2 separate regions of the Homo sapiens genome follow, and region 1 is linked to region 2. The links are contacts of gene promoters, found by promoter capture Hi-C in blood cells and fetal thymus (Javierre and others, 2016). All regions are on one chromosome and are shown on one strand. Each heading gives the region's core, a stretch centred on a gene start or on the middle of the fragment in contact. The rest is flanking DNA. Distances are from core to core; before and after follow the strand shown.

Region 1 (7,209 bases), core at 3,703-6,202, 240 kb before region 2:
TAACTTTTAATTTTACTTATGGTACAAATATTAGTTTCATTTTAATTCAGCATACTTTATTATACTTGCAAATACTTATGTAATTATTGTGTGAAATGAACTGCAAGTCTTATTACAGTTTATTTTACCTTGTACTTAGTTATGTGGGTTGTTGTAGTGCAAAGTTAATGCTTCACAATAATGTGGATCCATTTTAAATGAACTGGAAATCACAATAATTATTCTTCAATCCCATTCAAATATGCTTTTTTTTTTGAAATTGACTACATTAATGTTAATCAGCTGTCTTGATTTTGCATTTTTATGTAATTTTCTAAAAGCACACAAATGTTTTAAAATATTAAAATGATTATGTTTTCAAGTTTTCTAATGAGTAGATGAGTATTTTTATATTTAATGAGTTTAAATAATTTCCAGTAACAAAAATCGTGGAAAGAATTTCAAACAGTCAATTTCCAAATTTCTCTTTTAATTCAACTTTCTTTTGATAATGGGTTACTTTTTCCCATATTTTTAAAACACCATCTGTTTTGGAACAGAGTAAGGGGGTGATATCTTCAAGAAAACATATTACTGATGGAGACCTGTTGTCATAGGGAAGGGAAAACTAGGCTATGTCTACTTATAAAATAAAATTCCATAATTCTCTTCAATGTGTCTTTTAAAATACTTTACATAAGAAATTCTGATTCTGTATCTGATACAAGTTTTTAAATTATTACTTAGCATATCATCATACATTTCTGATTTGCTTCTCTTCCTTTTTTTTCTTCTCCACCTCCCCTTCCTTCTCCTTTCTCTTCTAACAACCCTTTAAAAATGTAAAATACATCTCAGGATCTCAGGTGGAAGTCTGTACCAAAACAATCCTTGGCCTGTGGGCTATGGTTTGCTGGCCTGTGGAATAAATGATGGCAAAGGGCTAGAGTACAAAGGTATACCATTTTATTTGCAGGTTGTGCCAATAAATTCTTGTATTATCTATTAATCCATAAACATTCATTCCCAAAATCAATAACTGGATATTTAGTGCCAGAATTATTTTTGATTTATTCTAGTAAATGGGCCATAACTGAAAAGACAGTTGCAATTGAATTTACTACCTAATTTAACTTATGGGTTCATTATCATCTGCTAAAATTTATCTGTGTTAGGAGAGGCAGACAGTTGAGTTCAATGGGTATGTGGATTAAGTCACCACTCCTGCATCTTTGTTTTTTAAGTCTTTGATGGTGGCACTAGCTTTGAAGCTTTTCCAAGGATATAATGATGCTGTCTGTTTATTATCTCTTAGTGAGGGAGACCATATGGTTTTCCACTTGGCCCTGAATATATGTGTTTTAACTGTATGCACAGGACAACTTTGCACATGCACTAGGTTCACTGTAAAACAGACTAGCACATAATCATAACTTATCAGGAAAATGTCTCTGACTCCAATTTCTTCCACTCTTATAAGTAAACACACTGGCATTTTATAGTCATTGTAATTAAGCTTAGCTCAGAAATGAGGTGGAATAACCTCTGAAAAATCCATGTTTCATTGATTTCACTGTACGATTTTCTTGGGAAAGGACCACATATCTATTGAAGGACACTAGCGGAAGATTTGGATATTAATATGCATGACAGTTTTGCAAAGACAACTTTCTTCATGGGTTCTGGTTCTATGAAAGGATTGAAGTCTGTAATTGAATAAGGAGCTTTAACTCCATTATGATGGCTAATTCATTCTTCCTTTCACTTATCCTAGAGTTCTTTCAATTATATGGACCAGTTAGAAACCTAATGAGCTGCCTGTTTATTTTAGTCCTAGGAACTTCATAATCTGTTGTTCACTACTAAAGTGCATCATGCAATATTGATAACTACTTCGGCCATACTGACCAATAAGTAACCACACTGAATATGCTCATATCAGTTAAGTGCTATTACATAGCCTCTGACTTTCCATGATCCATCATGTCCACTGAAATCAGGGAGTTCATTTTAACAAAAGCATCTTCCATCTTCATTTCAAACCAGTGGTTACAATACTTTTTAAAGCTGCTAGCAAATACCCTTGTGAATATTTTAATATCTTGCCAAAAGATTTTCCTCTGGGTATTCTCCAGTTACATAGCTAAGGGGTATGTAAGTAAATTGCATACAATAAAGCTGTTCCATATTGCAATTCCTCTAAGTTTTAGATTTATATTTACATATATGAAATACATACACACATATATGTAATTCCCAGTTGGGATCCTTTCAGATTTCCAATCAATTAACTTTCACAAAAGATATCTGGGAAGGATGTAAATTTAACCAATATTGCTGTATAATAAACTGCGAGATCAGAGCCTACCTTTGTTTTCAGCACCAAGTGACATGAGGATTTAAGAGATAAATTTATTTAGGACAGTCATGGGAACTTCATGATTTGCTGATTATTGTATAATTCAAGATAATAATTAAAGGATACAACCTTGTAATTTTCTTTCTTTAAGATCCTCAATATGGATCTTACCATGTTATAGCCTTATAGCATGTGCAGTACTTGTATTTCACATGCTTAGCACAGTGCTCTTTACCTTATACATCTACTTTGAGAAAGCTCAGCCTTAAATATAAGCTTCTTTCCAAGTGATAATATTTGATGCCATAGACTTGTAATATTCCATTTTCTTATGGTTGCAGCACTTCTCAGACCTTTCAAGATGATATTAACTAATTATAAATTACCCTTCTTAAGGATCTATTTCATGCAACCACTTGTAGTACCAAATATATCAGTTATCACTGTTAGGTTGCAATTCTCCATGGCATTTCTACACATTTAATATTATGCTTGGTCTGGATTTTTTTTTACAAAGTTGTTTTAATATCATTCAGCCTTGAAAGATCGAAATAATACCTCCCTCCAGGGCAGAAGGGAGATTTGCTTCCTGACTAGGATTATAAAATAGATGTCTCCCAGGGTGGCCAGGTTGGGCAGGTTTTCTAGCTATCTCTTTAAAATAGTGGGGGTTCCCTAAGTTCAGGATTTCACAGTTGTGTTACAGACTGATTGTGTCTGCTCTACCCATGGAGCCCCCTCTGCATTGCACCCCCTGGGGACTGGGAGGCAAAGGGAACGAGGAAACAACAGATGTTGGTGAGGATGTGGAGAAGTAGGAACACTTTTACACTGTTGGTGGGAGTATAAATTAGTTCAACCATTGTGGAAGACAGTGTGGTGATTCCTCAAGGATCTAGAACTAGAAATACCATTTGACCCAGCAATCCCATTACTGGGTATATACCCAAAGGATTATAAATCATTCTACTATAAAGACACATGCACACATATGTTTATTGTGGCACTATTAGCAATAGCAAAGACTTGGAACCAACCCAAATGCCCATCAATGATAGGTTGGATAAAGAAAATGTGGTACATATACACCATGGAACACTATAAAATATACATCCATAAAAAACGATGAGTTCATATCCTTTGCAGGGACATGGATGATGCTGGAAACTATCATTCTCAGCAAACTAACACAAGAACAGAAAACCAAACACCGCATGTTCTCACTCATAAGTGGGAGTTGAACAATGACAGAGAAGAATTTTAAATGCATATTTCTCAATGAAACTAGGCAGACTTAAAAGGCTATAAATTATTTAATTTCATTTATATAATATTCTGGTAGAGATAAATTTATAGAGAAAGTAACATATCAGTGGTTGCCAGGACTTTGTTGGAGTAAGGATTAAACGAGGAAGCATAGGGAATCTTTGGTTAGGGTAGTAAAATTATTCTATATAGTAATGTAAAGATGAATACATAATGTAGGGAGACCCCCTGAAACTATTGCTATGGAATAAAAGGTGAAATGCTCCTGATTATTGTAAATACAAAATTGCATGCAGGATTGTGTAAAGACAATGCCAGGTTGGACTGCCAGAATGAGCCAACAGCACATGATGTGCTTCCCCCTGCAGAGAGCCTACGAACGGACATGCAGTCAGGGAGGTTTCACATCACCAAGATTCCTGTCCCAGAAAAGCAGATGTTCATAGCTCTGGGAATGGAATGGGACCCTTGTGTAGAGCCTATAAATGGACGCATTGGGGGGGCACCTGTTCATATGGATAAGATAGGGCTATAAACGCCCTCATCTTGCCACAGCTCTTCTAGGCCTCTTTGGGGGTAAGGCATACTCCCTTCTGATATTTTCCGGTCTAACCGGTTGTCTAGCTTCACCTCCTGTTTCTATGGATTGTTTGTAACCAGCTTTTGCTGCAACTGTTACTGCTGATTAATAACTTGCTAATCATAGGTTATGGAAAGACTGTGTTTCTGTTTTAAGGCTCTGTTAGAAATTACTGATGCACACACTATATTGTAAACTCTTATCTCTGTATACTGTACTTCTGCATACAGATGTTATGTTAAAGAACTACTTCATCCCCATGTGACCATCTCACCTCATAATCAAAAGACCCTAAATCCCTCACTAACCTGCCCCGCCCTCACTAAACTTAATAATAAATGCTGGTATATCCAGTGCATTAGTGGCATCGCGGGACTAGAAGGCGGTGACCCCCCTGGACCCAGCTTTCACTGTCTTGTGTGTGTCTATTATTTCTCGACCTGCCAATCTGCCTGGGAATAAAGAAAGAGCCCCTCATTGCATTGCGGACTGCTGGCCAGATCCTGCAATAACATAACACCGTGCAGTTGTCAAAACCAGTAGAACTTTACAATACAAAGAATGCTTCTAATGTGTGAAAATTAAAAAAAAATCTGGGATATCACAATAGAATGTGGAAGAATTTAGCTATATTACAAATGTGTGACACAACCTCACTGAAGGGCATAGTGTAAAAAGTTGCTGACCTAAGAGAAATAAGTGGAGTCAGTAAGACTAACGTCAAAAGGAACTATACATAACCAATACAGTGAAGTTAATAAAGTTTTCTCCCAATACACATACATACTGGAACTGAATGATTGAGCAAGTGGATGGCAGATGATGGAAGCCAGTATCTCACTGCTGCATTGGGAGATTACTGATAAGGAATGACTCGTGATGGCATTTTAAACATGGTGACGGTATAAACTAAAGTTTAATTTAATATATATACAGATTGATACTATAAAATATTTATCATTGTGTGTCTAGGCGTAGGTTAATATAAACACCTATATTTCCTTGCTCTGTCACCTGAGAGTGTCTAGAAGCAAAAACAGCCCAGTAGCAATAAGCACACCCAGTGCCCAGATCTTGGTTTTTAACACCATTTTCTCATAAGAAAAATAACTAGAATCAGGCTGCTGATAGAGTTTGGCTCTATGTTTCTAATGCAGATGCTATCATTGCATGGCATATTTGCAGCTCCTGTCAAAAGTTGACTTGCTTTTCTCATGCTGGGGTAGGCCATATTGCAAGGAATGTTGCCTCCTCCTGCTTTTGGCAACTTGACTACCTTGGGTCTATTGGTAGTGCCTCACCGGGTAGATGCTGTTTTAGGTTACTGATAAGTTGACTATGGCACACAACTGTGATCTTTGACATTATCTGTGTCATGTCTTTAGATCCTCAGAGCATCTACAGTTTGACAACTTTTATTGTCCAAGCTATTCAGCAAAGGACTAATAGCCTCTGCCTCCTCATCTCTTCCTGATCCATGCACCTAGGTAAAGCAGTATGGTCATTGAATGCAGCTGTTCCCAGACTTGACTACTCATCTTCTTCCAGGGTAATGATCAAGATAAAAGTGGTTGGGAATTATACAGACTTACTTTGAAAATTCAAAATTCCACCTCAGTCATTCAAAGAATGATGTACCTTTCTTTTCCCTAAGATCAAATCTAGATAAGGCTGGTGCCATACCTTCCAGGTGGTAATTTGGACACAAGGGGGCCTAAGAAATTAGAGTTTGATACTTGTTGAAATTTAAAAAAAATTTCGTTTTTCTTCATTTACCTGACTCTTCTAGATGAAAGATCTGAATATGAGTCGGCTATGATTGGGAGAAAAAAAAAGGTGAAGCTATAGCTACAGGAATGTAGAACCCAGATTTGAAGGAAGTATAGGTAGAGAAAAAGCTGGCATATGAGGAGAAAACACCTTGTATACTCAGGGGCCATGGAGAGAGGTATTAGTAATCTTTGCCTTTAAGAAGTATCCTGGGCCCTTTCCTCCAGAAGAAAACTTCCACTCTACGTCTGCCACAAGAGCCTTAATTTTGATGGACTGCTGCATCTTCCATCCTTTACCAGACAGAGATGGCTCTGTCAGGATAACAGAGACAATAAGGTACTATTACACCACCTGCATGTCACTTGATAGTGACAGGAGGTACTGTTACACCACCTGCATGTCACTTGATAGTGACAATAAGGTACTATTACACCATCTGCATGTAACTTGATAGTGACAGGAGGTAGTCAAATGCTTAGGCAGATAGGGGCACGTCCACAGTGAAACCTCACCTCCAAGCAGAAGACAGTTTAATGCCTGAAGGCCAAGCTACAAGTTAAATCCTTGAACTGAATTGAGAACCTATCTTCCCATTGGGCGCACTTTTCTTTGATTGATTCTCACCCTTCACCTATTTTACATAAACTTACACTTTCCGAATTGGTCTTCTACATTGTTGTGCCCACCTTTGAGAGGTGTCTTTCTTTTTTACTGACCAGAGTATTGTCTTCTAGTGGGAAAAAGTTAGGCAGCTTTGCAAGTAGTCTCTAAAAAGACTGGGAATTTAATATAGTTGGGGTCCCCCATTTGTGAATTGGGTGCATTGTGTGCACATTAGGGCCTCCTCTACATTGTCCTCCACCTTTAGGGGAAAAGAGATGCTGACAAGAACATGAAGGATGATTCCGGGAAATTGCACAAACTATCTATGTTTCCATCCTTTGGCCAGAATTTATCCACAAGGTTACCATAAATTGTACCAAAGGCAAAGACATGGAAACTTCTATTAATATGGAAGAAGTGGAAAATGGTTATCTATAATGAAATGTGTTTCAGACCACTAGACAATATCCCAAGGACTGCAGAAAGTATAACTTGCAGAAAAGAAAGTCAAATTTATATAGGACATAAAATGTTCAGTTGTACCTGATGAATTAATGATGTGCATTTAGCTTGAGGTGGATTTTGTCTATGACAGGCTACGTTCTCCATTTTATATTCCCACCTTTTAGTCTCGCATAAAATAATAGTT
Region 2 (6,784 bases), core at 3,595-6,094:
TCATTCTGATACCAAAGCCGGGCAGAGACACAACCAAAAAAGAGAATTTTAGACCAATATCCTTGATGAACATTGATGCAAAAATCCTCAATAAAATACGGCAAAATGAATCCAGCAGCACATCAAAAAGCTTATCCACCATGATCAAGTGGGCTTCATCCCTGGGATGCAAGGCTGGTTCAATATATGCAAATCAATAAATGTAATCCAGCATATAAACAGAGCCAAAGACAAAAACCACATGATTATCTCAATAGATGCAGAAAAAGCCTTTGACAAAATTCAACAACCCTTCATGAGAAAAACTCTCAATAAATTAGATATTGATGGGACATATTTCAAAATAATAACAGCTATCTATGACAAACCCACGGCCAATATCATACTGAATGGGCAAAAACTGGAAGCATTCCCTTTGAAAACTGGCACAAGACAGGGATGCCCTCTCTCACCACTCCTATTCAACATAGTGTTGGAAGATCTGGCCAGGGCAATTAGGCAGGAGAAGGAAATAAAGGGTATTCGATTAGGAAAAGAGGAAGTCAAATTGTCCCTGTTTGCAGATGACATGATTGTATATCTAGAAAACCCCATTGTCTCAGCCCAAAATCTCCTTAAGCTGATAAGCAACTTCAGCAAAGTCTCAGGATACAAAATCAATGTACAAAAATCACAAGCATTCTTATACACCAACAACAAACAAACAGAGAGCCAAATCATGAGTGAACTCCCATTCACAATTGCTTCAAAGAGAATAAAATATCTAGGAATCCAACTTACAAGGGATGTGAAGGACCTCTTCAAGGAGAACTACAAACCACTGCTCAAGGAAATAAAAGAGGATACAAACAAATGGAAGAACATTCCATGCTCATGGGTAGGAAGAATCAATATCCTGAAAATGGCCATACTGCCCAAGGTAATTTACAGATTCAATGCCATCCCCATAAAGCTACCAATGACTTTCTTCACAGAATTGGAAAAAACTACTTTAAAGTTCATATGGAACCAAAAAAGAGCCCACATCACCAAGTCAATCCTAAGCCAAAAGAACAAAGCTGGAGGCATCACACTACCTGACTTCAAACTATACTACAAGGCTACAGTAACCAAAACAGCATGGTACTGGTACCAAAACAGAGATATAGATCAATGGAACAGAACAGAGCCCTCAGAAATAACGCCGCATATCTACAACTATCTGATCTTTGACAAACCTGAGAAAAACAAGCAATGGGGAAAGGATTCCCTATTTAATAAATGGTGCTGGGAAAACTGGCTAGCCATATGGAGAAAGCTGAAACCGGATCCCTTCCTTACACCTTATACAAAAATCAATTCAAGATGGATTAAAGATTTAAACGTTAGACCTAAAACCATAAAAACCCTGGAAGAAAACCTAGGCATTACCATTCAGGACATAGGCATGGGCAAGGACTTCATGTCCAAAACACCAAAAGCAATGGTAACAAAAGCCAAAATTGACAAATGGGATCTAATTAAACTAAAGAGCTTCTGCACAGCAAAAGAAACTACCATCAGAGTGAACAGGCAACCTACAAAATGGGAGAAAATTTTCGCAACCTACTCATCTGACAAAGGGCTAATATCCAGAATCTACAATGAACTCCAACAAATTTACAAGAACAAAACAAACAACCCCATCAAAAAGTGGGCGAAGGACATGAACAGACACTTCTCAAAGAAGACATTTATGCAGCCAAAAAACACACGAAAAAATGCTCATCACTGGCCATCAGAGAAATGCAAATCAAAACCACAATGAGATACCATCTCACACCAGTTAGAATGGCAGTCATTAAAAAGTCAGGAAACAACAGGTGCTGGAGAGGATGTGGAGAAATAGGAACACTTTTACACTGTTGGTGGGACTGTAAACTAGTTCAACCATTGTGGAAGTCAGTGTGGCGATTCCTCAGGGATCTAGAATTAGAAATACCATTTGAGCCAGCCATCCCATTACTGGGTATATACCCAAAGGACTATAAATCATGCTGCTATAAAGACACATGCACACGTATGTTTATTGTGGCATTATTCACAATAGCAAAGACTTGGAACCAACCCAAATGTCCAACAATGATAGACTGGATTAAGAAAATGTGGCACATATACACCATGGAATACTATGCAGCCATAAAAAATGATGAGTTCATGTCCTTTGTAGGGACATGGATGAAATTGGAAATCATCATTCTCAGTAAACTATCGCAAGAACAAAAAACCAAACACCGCATATTCTCACTCATAGGTGGGAATTGAACAGTGAGATCACATGGACACAGGAAGGGGAATATCACACTCTGGGGACTGCAGTGGGGTCGGGGGAGGGGGGAGGGATAGCATTGGGAGATATACGTAATGCTAGATGACGAGTTAGTGGGTGCAGCGCACCAGCATGGCACATGTATACATATGTAACTAACCTGCACAATGTGCACATGTACCCTAAAACTTAAAGTATAATAAAAAATAAAATAAAATAAAAAATAATAAATAAATAAATAAATATGCAAAGCAGTATTGAGTCAATATGAATATGATGATATTGTTAAATATTTAATATTTATGCAAGACTGGATTCAGGGAAAGCAAAATATCAAAAATGAAAGATAGTCTTAAGACCCAAACAAAGCTGAATCCAATACCAAGAGAACTACTGGATGGTAAATTGAAATAGTGAAAAAGAAGAAAACAGGACAGAGGTTCTAAGTGTGAGTTACAGAGTCATCTTCTGATTATAATGTTCTCTCAAAAGGGTATTAGCTTCCTAGCAAGCTTTATCTACCCTGAGCCTAGATTAAGATGCATGCCCTGTGATGGTGTTCCTCTACCATGGAGATTTTGCTCAGTATATTGGGTGTATACTAGCAGAAGACAGTGCTTACTTGATTAGACAAAAAAGGGAAAAACACTGATTGTTTAAAGCTCTTGTAGTAGATGCATTAGGGCTTTTTGAGGGAAATATTCTAAAACCATAAGAAAATGCCTTATTTTATATCTCTCTTGCATTTAATAAAGGTAAGAAAATTTGAAGCTCTTAAGACATTACTTACAAATTAGAAACCTGTGAATATCTAACAATATGATTGAGAATACACAACAGCAACTTCTACCTAGCTATTGAACTTAGCCCAGAATAACAGAGTCCCTAGTCTTCAGTCTTATTATTTCACTGAAAGAAATATTGAGGAAACATTGAGGGATCAATATACTAAAAGAAATAAACAATAAGATGGGGAAAATTAGCCAGTTGCACTTTGGCAAAGTTTAATCTCCATTAGCCCTAATATTACACCTGAATCAAGGAGTAAGTAATTGTATAGAGAATGGCACACATTTAGTTTTTGCTCTTGATAGCCCTGTTTACACCAGTTGTATCAACGTAATTATTAACTGCCCCCGCTGTGCTTCTCAAGTATCTTGGTTTAGATAATAAACTATGTAGTAACCCCAGCTTTGTTTCAATTACCAATAGACAGAATATTATCTTCATGAAATTAAAACATTCAGGTAAAGTGTTCACCACAAACACAGCGCAGTGATTAAAGAACTGGGACTCTGGGGTTTCTCTAGCCACTTACTATCCTGAAACAATGGCCACATACTTTACCTCTTTGTCGATCAGCTTTTTCATTTTTTAAGTGGAGATAATATACCTCCCTACTTCACAGGTTGTCCTAAGGATTATATTAATTATATATGTAATATACTTAAAAGAGAAGCATAGCAAGAGATTTGCCTGAAGCATAGCAAGAGATTTGTGTTTGTCATATTATGATTATACTGGGTTAAGTCACAGGAAGTTAACTGATTAAGCACTTTTAAAAATCTGGTGAGGTGAAAAATAAGAGAGTAACAGATTGAGAAACGAATGCGTACTGTGGAAATAGAGTCAAAGAATGTAGATCTGAAGGAAATGAAAAAGGAGAGAATATTGTGTCATGGCGAGGATATTCAGCAATTTTTGTCTTGACTTTTATCCATGTTGTATAACTTGTTCTAATCTGAGTAGCTAACTGAACGCAGGAAGACATAGTTTTTATATTTTTCAGCAGTTCATTTATTATAATCAAAACTGTCTTGCACTGTGATAAAAGGGCACTGAAAAATAATCATATTATACTACACAGCACTATCCAGGGAGTAGATATAAGATTTAGATAATGAAGCTTAGAAGAGATATGTAAAATTATAAACGTGGATGCCTTAGGGTCAAAAGATGGTTTTCTCTTAAAATGAATAACCAACAATTAAAAAGCAGTCAAAAAGCAAATAAATATACATCTTAGAGGGAATTGAAATGTTTTGTTTGGAACCTGATGTATGTTTTATTTTAGGGTTTTACAATTCCCAAATTTTAAAACAGAGATGAAACTAAAGCGAATTATTTTAATGTAGCTTATGAGTTGCAGAAAAACATTTGGCAGCATAAAAAACAGTCATATTTCAAAAAATAATGCAATCCAATAAAAAGGCACAACTCAGAATGAGTTAAAATGTTTAATACACTATAAATTAATTACTATAGAAGATTAATAAAGAAAAGTTATTCTATAGTTCGTTGACTAAAATTTATAAAATAATCTTATTTGGCCATTTTGTATAAATAGATCAAGGGAGCTCAACGTACTAAAACATGTACATATATGTTATTTATATTCTCACTATAAACTTCTGCAGATCAACAAGTAAAACCTATGATGTTGGATAAATGAAACATGCATGAGAGTGTTCATCATTAGCTGCTTTTTTTATTGAATGCTGCAGTTCAAATTTCTCTGACATTTACATGTAGTTTTGGAAAAATGCAGAAGTCAGTAATGAGAAAACACACAGCAATAACAACATTCATCCTTCTGGGACTGACAGAAGATCCTCAGCTGCAGGTTCTGCTTTTCATGTTTCTATTTATCACCTACATGTTGAGTGTAACAGGGAAACTGACCATTATCGCCCTCACCATGTTGGATCCCCACCTGAAAACACCCATGTATTTTTTTCTCCAAAATTTATCTTTCTTAGAAATCTCATTTACAGCTACCTGTGTTCCAAGATTCTTATACAGTATCTCAACTGGGAACAAAATAATAACGTATAATGCATGTGTCATTCAGCTATTTTTTGCAGACCTCTTTGGGGTAACTGAATTTTTTCTTTTGGCTACCATGTCATATGATCGCTATGTGGCCATCTGCAAACCCTTGCATTATATGGCAATCATGAGCAACAAAGTGTGCAAAACAATGGTTATTTGTTGTTGGATGGCAGCACTTATGATTATCCTCCCACCACTTAGCTTAGGTTTTCATCTAGAATTCTGTGACTCTAATGTCATCAATCATTTTGGCTGTGATGCATTGCCTATTCTGAAAATACCATGCTCAGACACATCATTAATTGAGCAGATGGTTGTAGCCTCTGCTGTATTAACCTTTATTATCACTCTTGTATGTGTAGTTCTGTCCTACACATATATCATAAGAACAATTCTAAAATTCCCTTCTGTTCAACAAAAGAAAAAAGCCTTTTCTACCTGTTCTTCACATATTACTGTGGTTTCCATCACTTATGGCAGCTGCATCTTCATCTATATCAAGCCATCTGCAAAAGAAGAGGTAAACATTAATAAAGGTGTGTCAGTGCTTATTTCATCCATATCACCTATGTTGAATTCTTTCATATATACTCTTAGGAATGAGCAAGTTAAACAAGCCTTTCATGACTCACTCAAAAAAATTGCATTTCGTTTAAAAAAGTAAAGTGTACCTAAGTTGATAAATCAATATAAAAGATCTGCTTCATATTTTTCATAAAGCCAATAACCAACTTTGTAATTTCTTAGTCTATAGAGCAATCAAGTTGACTGCATAGCCATTTAATCATTAATTTTTTATTAATTTACGTACTGAGAAATTAATTATTGAATAATATTCTATGATAGACAAAATATATCACTTTTAATCCTTAACCAGATTAAACCACTCTTTTTTCCTTCTTTCCAGTTGATTTTCTCTGATAATTTTAAAATATGGGTGTGAAGTTATTTTTTTCCCAACTTCTATGAGTAGTCATTCTTTTTTTTTTTTTTTTTTTCTCCCCTGGAGATAGATTCCCACTCTGTTGTCCAGGCTGGAGTGCGATGGTGCCATCTTGGCTCACTGCAACCTCCAACTTCCAGGTTCAAGCAATTCTCATGATTCAGCCTCCCAAGTAACTGGAACTAAGAGCATGCGCCACCACGCCCACCTAATTTTTGTATTTTTAGTATAGACAGGGTTGCACCATGTTGGCCAGGCTAATCTCAAACTCCTGGTCTCAAGTGATCCACCCACCTCGGCCTCCCAAAGGTGCTGGGATTACAGGCGTGAGCCACTGCACCTGGTCTATGAGAATTCACTCTTAATCAAGATACAAATTCCTTGCCTCACTGAAAAAAAGTCAGATTTAAGTAACAAACTTTAAAATATCTACAGCAAAAAGAGAAAATTTCATGAAAAATATTAAAGAGAAAACATAAGTAAAAGAATAGCTTTATGGTACAGTTAACATGAAAGGCTTAATATAATAAATATGTAGGAAGTTTCTATGAATCAAAAAAGGCAACAAATTTACTATAAATACCAAGAAAATATTAGATATTTATTTTACTAAAAAATAAAATTACCTATAGCAATAGGAAGGGATGCACAACTTCATTATTAGCCACAGATTTAAACATTAAAGTCATGATATACATTTCACCCATCATATTTGCACAAAC

Evidence for each region. The method cuts DNA at HindIII sites, captures the fragments that hold promoters and counts their contacts. A CHiCAGO score of 5 or more calls a contact.
Region 1: a fragment that was not itself captured here is called in contact with the fragment with the promoter of OR6C68 in region 2 in 4 of 17 cell types (M0 macrophages, neutrophils, total CD4 T cells and 1 more); the score reaches 5.9 in M0 macrophages.

The regions. Positions count from the first base shown.
Region 1 is chr12:55,252,167-55,259,375 of GRCh38, forward strand. It overlaps OR6C74 (olfactory receptor family 6 subfamily C member 74), which reads left to right. Exons shown (of 2, transcript NM_001005490.2): 2 at 1-4,459. Among named protein-coding and RNA genes, the nearest start is that of OR6C74, 11 kb to the left of the region's middle. The HindIII fragment of the contact is 4,681 bases long and covers 2,613-7,209 here.
Region 2 is chr12:55,487,534-55,494,317 of GRCh38, forward strand. It overlaps OR6C68 (olfactory receptor family 6 subfamily C member 68), which reads left to right and starts at 4,845. Exons shown (of 1, transcript NM_001005519.2): 1 at 4,845-5,783. The coding sequence starts at 4,845. The coding sequence ends at 5,783. The HindIII fragment of the contact is 4,433 bases long and covers 4,192-6,784 here.